Regions from separate parts of the Homo sapiens genome. Here region 1 is linked to region 2. Evidence: promoter capture Hi-C in 16 types of primary human blood cells and fetal thymus (Javierre and others, 2016). All regions are on one chromosome and are shown on one strand. The core of a region is centred on a gene start or on the middle of the fragment in contact, and the rest is flanking DNA. Distances in the headings are between cores, read along the strand shown.

Region 1 (5,202 bases), core at 612-3,111, 130 kb before region 2:
ATACTATTTGATTATAACTGGTAAAATAAAAATCTATAAGTCATATTGATATAAATAATGCAATAAATAAATAGGGGAAAACAAATCTCCCTTACAATTACTAAATGTGGAAGTAATGAAATAAATAGAAAATTACAACTAGGCAAATACCACAGTACTAACTGCTTCACCCAAGATGCATACTAAAATTAGTGGGCTTAAGTATGATAAGAAACAGGATATATGCATGGTCACAAAGTATCTCCCAACAAAATACTAAATATAGATAGAAAAATAATATTTTCTTCTTTACAGTGGAAAAATACCAGCAGACACCAACTTAAGCAAGTAACAAAAGTTAACCGTGAGAGTAATAAGACATATTGACGGCTGGGCATGGTGGCTCACCCCTGTAATCCCAGCCCTTTGGGAGGCCAAGTTGAGAGGATCACTTGAGCCCACGAATTTGAGACCAGCCTGGGCAACATAGGGAGATTCTGTCTCTACAAAAAAAATTTAAAAATTAGCCAGGCATGATGGTACACACCTGTGGTCCCAGCTACTTGGGAGGCTGAGACGAGAGGATCACTTGAGCCCAGGAGGTTGAGTCTGCAGTGAGCCATGATCGCACCACTGTACTCCAGCCTGGGCAACAGAGCGAGGTCTTCTCTCAAAAAAAAAGACATACTGACATCATCTATTCTTGATATCATGCACTGAAGACACAACATCACTTCTGTGGTATTCTGTCAAAATGCATAATAATCTCAATTCGATCATGAGAAAACATTAGACAAATATATATCAAGGAACAGTTGAGAAAATAAGGAATCAACACTCCACAAGTGTCAAGGTCATCAAAGTAAAGACTGAGGAATTGTCACAGGCTGAAGTAGATTAAGGAGACATTATAACTCGATGCAATGTGAGATCCTGGATTGAATCATAGAGCAGAAAGAAAACATTAGTGGGAAAACTAATCTCTGAATAAGATCTATAGTTTACTTCAGAGGTCATAAAACATTTTATGTAAAAAGTTTGATAGTAAATATTTTTGACTTGTGGACCGTATGGTCTCTGTTGCAACTACTCATCTCTACTCAACTTTGCCATTGTACATATGTGAAAACAGTAAATTAATGAATATGGCTGTGTTTCAATAAAAGCTTATTTATAAAAACAGGCAGAGGATCAGATTTGGCCCACAGGTGCAGTTTGTAAACCCCCGGCTTAGTTGATAGTATTGTACCAATATTAATTTCCTGGTTTTGATCATGGTACTATGATAGGGTATTAAATCAGGGAAGCTAGGTGAAAGATACACAGAACTCTGCACTATTTGTGTAACATTTCTGTAAATCAAGAATTGTTTCAAAATAATTTTTTAAAAAAATCTATCATAACCTGAGATCAGAATCAAAGATCTATTCCAGCTTTTTAAAAAATGAGAGAACATAAATGCTAACAGAAATGCTATAAATGGGAGAACATAAATGCTATAAAGAAATGTCGGGGGAGAGGGGAACAAAGAGTTATTGTTTAATGGTTAAAGAGATTCCATTTGGAATGACGACACGTTTTAGGGACAGACAGAAGTTATGGTTGTATAAAAATGTGAATGTACTTAATGTCACTGAATCATACACTTAAAAATGGGTAAAATGGTAAATTTTATGTTACATATATTTTACCACAATAATAAAAAAAAAGAATAGCTAAGCAACTGGAAAGCTGGGAGAATACCAAAAACACACACACTGACACAAAAAAATCCTGTAATTAAGTATAATTTTAAGCCTAGTATTAATTGTTCACCCAGCATTTTAAAATTTTTGAAATCTACCAAAAATTTGAAAGAATTATTGAATGAACACTTGTATCCCTTCTCCTAAATTCACTTATTGTTAGCAGTTTACCACATTTGCTTTTTTTCTTTCTCTCTCTACACACACACACACACACACACACACACACACACACACACACAGGCAGACACAACTTTTCTTACACTGAACCATGTGATATTAAGCGCGGATGACACTTTACCCCTAAGCATAAGGATACTGCCCTACATAACTAAATACCATTATCACATCTGAAAAAAAAATTACTATCATCTAATATGAAGGCAATATTTACAATTTCAAATTGTCACTAAAATAATTTTGTAACATTTTTCTAATTTAGGAGAAAATTAGAGTTCACATGTTGCACTTTGTTCTTATACCTCTTCAATGCATTTCAATTTAATTCAACTAGATTTAATAAGCAGACTATTCACTACTGATTTTTTCCCATCTCTCAATTCAAATTTCCAAATAATATAGGAACATTAGAATTTACAAAACTCAGAAAATCATGCAACTTCAACTATATATCAACCACTATGATCACAATCCATATTAGAAACACAAATATGATGAGATTTTAGAAGTTTACTCTCTCCTACACAAACAAAAAACAACAACAACAAAACCACTTGGGTAATAAATTACCCACAGAATCAGGCTGTAGAAACACAGATCACAGAAAACTCAGGTTTTAATAAAGCAAATCTCAAATGTAATCATATATATTAAAAGGGTCTATATATTGAACTAAGCTTCAGAAGCAAAATCAATATTGCCCCTTTTGTTGAAGAGGCACAGGAATCCATGTTGTGATATATAACATGCTAAATCACACAGTTCCTTTATAGAATCTGTAAGAGCTTGCAGCCATATTGCAAAGAAATTTATAAGACAAGCTGGGCGCAGTGGCTCACGCCTGTAATCCCAGCACTTTTGGGAGGCCGAGGCGGGTGGATCACGAGGTCAGGAGATCGAGACCATCCTGGCTAACACGGTGAAACCCTGTTTCTACTAAAAATATAAAAAATTAGCCGGGCATGGTGGTGGGCGCCTGTAGTCCCAGCTACTAGGGAAGCTGAGGCAGGAGAATGGCATGAACCCGGGAGGCAGAGCTTGCAGTGTGAGCCGAGATCGCGCCACTGCACTCCGGCCTGGGCGACAAAGCAAGACTCCGACTCAAAATAAATAAATAAATAAATAATAAAAATAAAAAAATAATAATAATAAAAAAGAAATTTATAAGACAAGTAGTCACAAAATGATGTACTATTATTTATTAACATTAAAATGTCCATGACATATTAATTGTATATGTGTGTGGCAAGAACTTCTCCCCCTCATCTTTAGTGAATAACTCTTGCCCAAAAGCCCTATAAATGTTTAGGATTCCAAGACTATGTCCTTAGCTTTCCATTTGTAAAACATTACAACTCCACTGAATAACCTCAACTATTTCTGTGATATTGTACATACACCATGACAACTCTAAAAACCTGACACTCATTGTAGACTTTTCCCTTTCATACCAATTAAGAAGACCTAACAATTCAACCTCCTATAAGACTCAAGTCAATCTTCCTCTTCTCCAACAACCCCATTTGTCATCAACTACAGCAATACCTTCCAAACATTCAGTGCCTTCATTCTCACTGAATAGTAAGGAACTAATCTGATCATATGATATCTTTGATTAAAATCTTTCAATAGGGAAAAAAGTGGTCATGCTGAGATTGTGATTCTTGGGTGTTAGTAATCAACATCTTGTTCCTTGATCTGGGTGCCCTACGTTTTCATCAAGATGTCTACTTATTGATAATGTGCACTTCTTTGTACATACATTTCAAATAAAACATTTTTTAAAGTGGTGGTAATCCTCTATGATTATACTAAAAACTGCTAAATTGTATACTGTAAATGGTGAACTGTGTGGTTTGTGAGTTATATCTCAATATAGCTGTTATACAAAAAATTTAAAAATAAGGCCGGTACGGTGGCTCACGCCTATAATCCCAGCACTTTGGGAGGCCGAGGTAGGTGGATAACCAGAGGTCCAGAGTTCAAAAATAAATACAGTAATTGAAAAAAAAAAAAAAACTTTTCAATGGCTCTGCATCCTTTAGAGCCTATTATATTTCCCAAACACTTGCAAAAATGCGTTCCTATTCCCAGTTGGCAAAGAAGAGTTCATCTGCCATCCATGGGTTGGGTACTAACAACAGTCTTCAAAATTTACCCCTAGTCATCAAAAAGCCCACCACAGCAACAACAAAAAAATTCTTTGAACTTTTTGTTACCCAAAATTCGCAGGCAAATATCACATTTAATTACCCAATATATATTATTTAACATAAAATGACCTTCCCCAAACCTCAAATTATAAATAGAGACACCAAAGAGATGTACACCTTGGTATACCACCCAGTACTCCAGTGTGAAAAACACAGGCTTACAAAGATCTCCAGTATCTGGTCTCTGTTTTACAGGCCCAGCTTCATCCCCTGTTGTTCCTTTCCCTACTCCTATCTATAGAGCAGCTTATACTATATTAATTGTATCCCATCCATCATGTGCCAACATTTTACACAGGTTTTAAAATTTTTTTCCCTGCTTGTGTTGTAAATCTTCACAACAATCTACGTGCTCCCACATTTTGAATTTAATCTGTTGGGTAAAAGCCTTCTTTGTGAAGCCTTCTCTGGGGTAACTCCTACCCCTCAAGAAGCTAAAGAAGCCCTTCTTTGTGCCACATTATATAATTACGTTACACAAAATGTCCCTCATGGTGCTATAATTTTTTTATAATACAAAGGTCAATAATTCTTACTAAACCAGTGACTGCCAAACCTAGTTACCTATCAGAATCACTGAGATACATTTTTATTCATTTTTGTATCCTCAATGCCCACCATACTGCTGGAAACATGTAAGCCCTCAATGCAAAAGGACTCAGGCTTTTAATGAAATGGAAATCTACTCTGACTATATGCCAGTCAAGTTCTGCATATAAGCTTGCATAAATTTACCCAAATTAATTTCATTTTCTACCCTTCTACAGGAAAGCACTAATTCTGCAGTTGTATGCAATCTTATACTTTCTACATAATGTTTTATTTATTAAATCATATTTATTTCTCTTTATAATCTAAAGGTTAAAAATATTCTTTGTGTCATCTAAAGTTTCTGGGTTATCTTCCCACTCTAAATTATTAATTTTAATCTCATGTGATAGTATACTTGTTGCCAGTGTACTGACATTTGCTTAATATAAGTGGTCAACTGTTTGAGCAGATATGCTTAAATTTTTTTTTTTTTATTTTTCTTGGAGAAAGAGTCTCGCTCTGCCGCTCAAGTTGGACTGCAATGGCGCAATCTC
Region 2 (4,974 bases), core at 250-2,749:
CAAGGTAAAGAAAATATAATCTACTGCTTGTTCATGCAGAAATACAGACATACGTATCATAGGCTCATTGCCCAATTCTACATTCTAGCTAAATTGCTCTAAAAACATATGCCAATCTAAGAGTTACTCAAAGGCACATTTCGCCAACTTGAAATGCAATTCTGACCCATGCTCCTTGTAATTTTATTTTGCCACTGGACGCCAAGGATGCATCTCCGAGTAAAAAAATTACTTAATTCACATTGTGGGATGAAAATTCAAATGTCAAACTGAAACGCCAGCCAGCCACCTGGGTAAAAGTGTATACATTTCATATTGACTACCCAAATTTTCAGACCCGTCAAGAGGCAAATCAGAAGCACACAGAAAAACAGCTTCAACCTAATAAACGTGCTTGATTGGTTAAGAGGAGGCCTGCCAGGCATTTTCCCTTGCAATAAATCTTACTTCGCATCAGCCCACGTTAACCTGCCCTTCATCCTTCATGGAATAAATAAGTAAATAAAGATAGGGCCTAATTACTCCTCGAAATTTGCCCAGAAAGTGGGGAAACACTTGAGGTCCCATTAAGGCTGGACATCACAAAAAGTAGTATACTAGGGTCCTCTGGAAGCAAAACCCTGTGTTAAGTCCCCCCTCGCCTAGAAATAAACCCAAGGATATCCTTCAGGATATGGAGTAGAAAAGATACCTAAATACCTGGAACTGCACCACAACCCAATCAAAAAAAGGCTTGTCTCCTGGGGCTGCAGAAAAAAAATCCCGCAGGGCCCGGGTGCTTCCCATCTCCAGCAACCTAAACGCCTCTAAGTCGTCCTGGGATCTCACATCCTCGCGCCCGCCCACCCCTCCCCCTCTTCTCACCCTCCCCCCGCTTCTTCCCCACGCAGTTTCTAGGCCCAAAGATTAGCAAAAATGACCGGGATACCAAAGACCGCCTCCGACTTCGAGGTCTCAATCCCACAGGCACCAAAGAATAAACAGAGGAGCCCGACCAAGCGTCACCGTTTAGGGGAGATTGCAAGAAGCGCCCCATACCCTAGGCCGCGCCCCCCCCACCTCCCCCCACCCCATCCCCACCCCCACCCCCGTCGGAGCCTTGCGCCGATACCCCGAAACCCTTCTCACCTAAAGAGAAAACGATGCCTCTTTCGGCTAAGCAACACACAGGCCTAACCCACCAAGCGAACGCCTTCCCAAACACCCGACTCAGACGGTGCCTGGGCCCAGACCGCTGGGGCCCATGAGACGGGGTTGCGTTTTACCTCATGGGCTCAGCGGTCATGTTTTCGCTTGAACGCCTTGTCGGCTTCTGTGATTGCTGGGCGCCGATCTGCGCTCCCCCGCGCCCGGTTACGATAGAAATGCACTGGAGTCTTAGTCGTCACTGTAGCTGCTGCTGGAACCTCCCCACAGCTCAAAGGCCGCTACCACTGCCACCGCCGCAGGAGCCGCGGAAACAAAGCGACACCGCTGCCGCCGCCATTTTGTTGGGCCGAGGCTCAGGCAGGAGAATTGGCGCGTCCTCCCTCTTTCTCTTTCCGTCAGCCATTGGCTACCTCCTCCAAAGCACAGAGTCTTATTGGCTACGGAAATTCACCTTCTTTGGGGGCCTGTTGCTAAGGCGGTCGACGTCATTTGATCCCCTCCACCTTTTCGCAGGGGGTCCAATTTAGTCCCAATTGACCTGAAAGTGCTAGTGACATAGTTTGACTTTATTTTGAAAATGCTCTTTTGGTCCAACCTCTTTTTTCTTTGACATATTAACGAAGTAATAACAGCAACCTACATTTATTGAGAGTTTACTATATGCTCGGCACTACACTAATCCTTTATCCGGGTTATCTCATTTAATCTTTACACTCTCTGAGGTAGACAAACCTACATTTTCCAGATGAGGAAACCAAGACACAAAGTCCCACAGTAGTGGAGCCGAGATTCACCAGACACTCTTAACCACTAATCTGTATGGCCATCCTATGTAAGTATTTTCTTTCCTATATGCTAGGCTATCATCAAGTTATTTGCTTTCCTAGATGTTTTATACATAATATTTGGCACACCAACATGCTTGGAAATGTATATGTGTATAATATACTTATATATATGTATATGTGTGCAGACGACATAAGACCAACTTGAACGCTGCATAAAATTCTTTCCATATTGAATAAAGTGTCTCTTAGAATACACACACACACACACACACACACACACACACACACACACACACGGGCCATTTCCCCAATTTGATGTGATGTTTAGCTCACAAACCAATCAATTTAGATCTGCTTCCTTCTCATTACAGAGGAAGCTTGGCTGGATGATCTGTAAATGCCTTTCCCGCTTTTATGATCTATAATTTGATTTTACATTGGTAATCTCTGCTAATCACAAACAAGTCCTCTAAAATCTAATCGCTTCGAAATTTATTTCCAAATTTATTCTGCCATGCATGCTTTAGTTCATTCTATTTATTTTTCTTGAAATATGCAAGAGCTCCTGTCGGGGTTAGGTGACAGGGTTGCTGCTTTCTACTGGGATAGCAAGAGGGGAGCCTTTTTTGAATGAAACACTTTGAAAATCTGATAGGCTCAGGCAACTTTTTTTTTTTTTTTTTCTGAGACAGGGTCTAGCTCTGTCACCCAGGCTGGAGTGCAGTGGCGTGACGCAGTTCACTGCAGCCTCGACCTCCTAGGCTCAAGCAATCCTCCCACCTCAGCCTCTCAAGCAGCTGGGACTGCAGGCGCGTGCCATCAAGCCCAGCTAATTATGTATTTATGTATTGGTATAGATGAGGTAGGTCTGTCTGTTGCCCAGGCTGGTCTCAAACATCTAAGCTCAAGCCATCCTCCAACCTCGACCTCCCAAAGTGCTGGAGTTACAGGGGTGAGCCACCGCGCCTGGCCTCAGGCAACTTTTTAATCAACAGACGCCTGTACACATTGCAATTATATCTTTCAAATGTTTGAGTTCAGTTGGCAATTATAGAAACCAGACCTCTGTACCTGCTATACTGATTTTGTCTTGTACACATTAAATATCATTTCAACATACAATTTACAGGAGTCATTTTTTTCTCCTTGGTAAATGCAGTGAATTTGAATGATGTACTCCATCACAAGGCAGCACAGAAATGTGCTTGCTGTTCAACTGACTTCACTATGAGAAAAATAGTAAATAGTCAACATGTTACCAGGTTATTGGCGTTTCGAACAAGGAATTGGACAAAATGCACAAAGCAAGGAAAGAATGAAGCAACAAAAGCAGAGACACGTTGAAAATGAAAGTACACTCCACAAGACTGCAGGAGCTGCCAGAGCACAGGGGCTCAAGACCCCCATTACAGAATTTTCTGGGATTTAAATACTCTCTAGAGGTTTTCCATTGGTTACTTGGTGTACACCCTATGTAAATAAAGTAGTGGCCCGCAATCAGAGGCTAAAGTGAAGTTACAAGGGTCACACCCTATGCAAGCATCTAATTGGTTGTGGACAGCAACCAATCAGAGGCTAAAGTGAAGTTACAAAGTTACACTGCTATACAAACATCTGCTTTCTGCAACCAATCAGAGATACTTTCAGTTTTCCATCTGCCAAGCGGAAAAGGAAGAGGATTTGCAAAGGGAGTAGTCTTTTTGTTACTTAGGTGTGGAAAGTTGGGGTTTTCCTTTTGATTCAGTTCTAGGAAGTCAACTTTACTCAGCCTTAGGTTCCCTGCCTCCAAACCCTATTCTCCTGCCTCACATTATTTTTAAATGAATTGAAATTATTAAGGTAGAAACTAGCTGTTGCTGAGAGACTTCTCAACACTAAACAGCTTTAAATGACAAGTCTCACAAAAGAAACTTAATAATAAAACTATAATCACAATTTGTTTTTGTTTTGTTTTGTTTTGTTTTGTTTTTGAGATGGAGTCTCGCTCTTGTAGCCCAGGCTGCAGGCTGGAGCGCAGTGGCATGATCTCGGCTCACTGCAACCACTACCTCCCAGGTTCAAGCGATTTTCCTGCCTCAGCCTCCCTAGTAGCTGGGATTACAGGCACCCACCACCACGACTAACTAATTTTCATATTTTTAGTAGAGACGGGGTTTCACCATGTTAGCCAAGCTGGTCTTGAACTCCTGACCTCAGGTAATCCACCCGCCTCGGCCTGCAAAAGTGCTGGGATTACAGCCATGAGCCACCATGCCAAGCAATCATAGATTTTTTAAATTTTAATTTTGTTTTGAGACAGGGCCTCACTTGGCCTCCCAGGCTGGAGCATAATGGCGTGATCATGGGTCACTGCAGCCTCGACCTCCCAAGCTCAAGTGATCCTCCCACCTCAGCCTCCCAAGTAGCTACAACTGCAGGCCTAAGCCACCACAGCCCGGCTAATTTTATCTTTTTGTTTTATTTTTTTAGAGAGTAGGTCTCGATGTTGCCCAGGCTCATGTCTCAAAGTCCAGAGCTCAAACTATCCTCCCACCATAACCTCCCAAAGTGCTTGAATTACAGGCGTGAGCCACCATGCCCAGCAATAATCACAGCATTTTCAAAATGAACAACATTTGTGAATATTGTTGTGAATAACAACTTGTGAATACATTGTGAATAACAACTCACTATATTTGTGAAGCATAAGAGAATACCTGAGCCGAACATGGTGGCTCATGCCTGTAATCTCTTAACTTTGGAAGGCCAAGAAGGGAAGATGGGTTAAATTCAGTAGTTCAAGACCAAACTGGGAAAAATAGTGAGGCTCCCTCTCTAAAAAAAATTTTTTTTTTACTTAAAAAAAAAAGAAAAAGAGGCCAGGCGCGGTGGCTCATGCCTGTAATCCCAGCACTTTGGGTGGCCGAGGCAGGTGGATCACCTGAGGTCAGGAGTTCAAGACCAGCCTGGCCAACATGGTGAAACCCCATCTCTACTAAAAATATAAAAAATTAGCCGGGTGTGGTGGTGGGTGCCTGTAATCCCAGCTACTGGGGAG

What was found. The method cuts DNA at HindIII sites, captures the fragments that hold promoters and counts their contacts. A CHiCAGO score of 5 or more calls a contact.
Region 1: a fragment that was not itself captured here is called in contact with the fragment with the promoter of ATRX in region 2 in 3 of 17 cell types (total CD4 T cells, non-activated CD4 T cells and activated CD4 T cells); the score reaches 6.0 in total CD4 T cells.

The regions. Positions count from the first base shown.
Region 1 is chrX:77,657,560-77,662,761 of GRCh38, forward strand. The region is part of intron 12 of ATRX (ATRX chromatin remodeler); the gene reads right to left. Among named protein-coding and RNA genes, the nearest start is that of ATRX, 130 kb to the right of the region's middle. The HindIII fragment of the contact is 1,436 bases long and covers 1,144-2,579 here.
Region 2 is chrX:77,784,717-77,789,690 of GRCh38, forward strand. ATRX (ATRX chromatin remodeler) reads right to left here and starts at 1,500. Exons shown (of 35, transcript NM_000489.6): 1 at 1,266-1,500. The coding sequence starts at 1,285. RefSeq lists a silencer at 1,114-1,163 and enhancers at 1,264-1,373, 1,384-1,573. The HindIII fragment of the contact is 7,766 bases long and covers 1-2,312 here.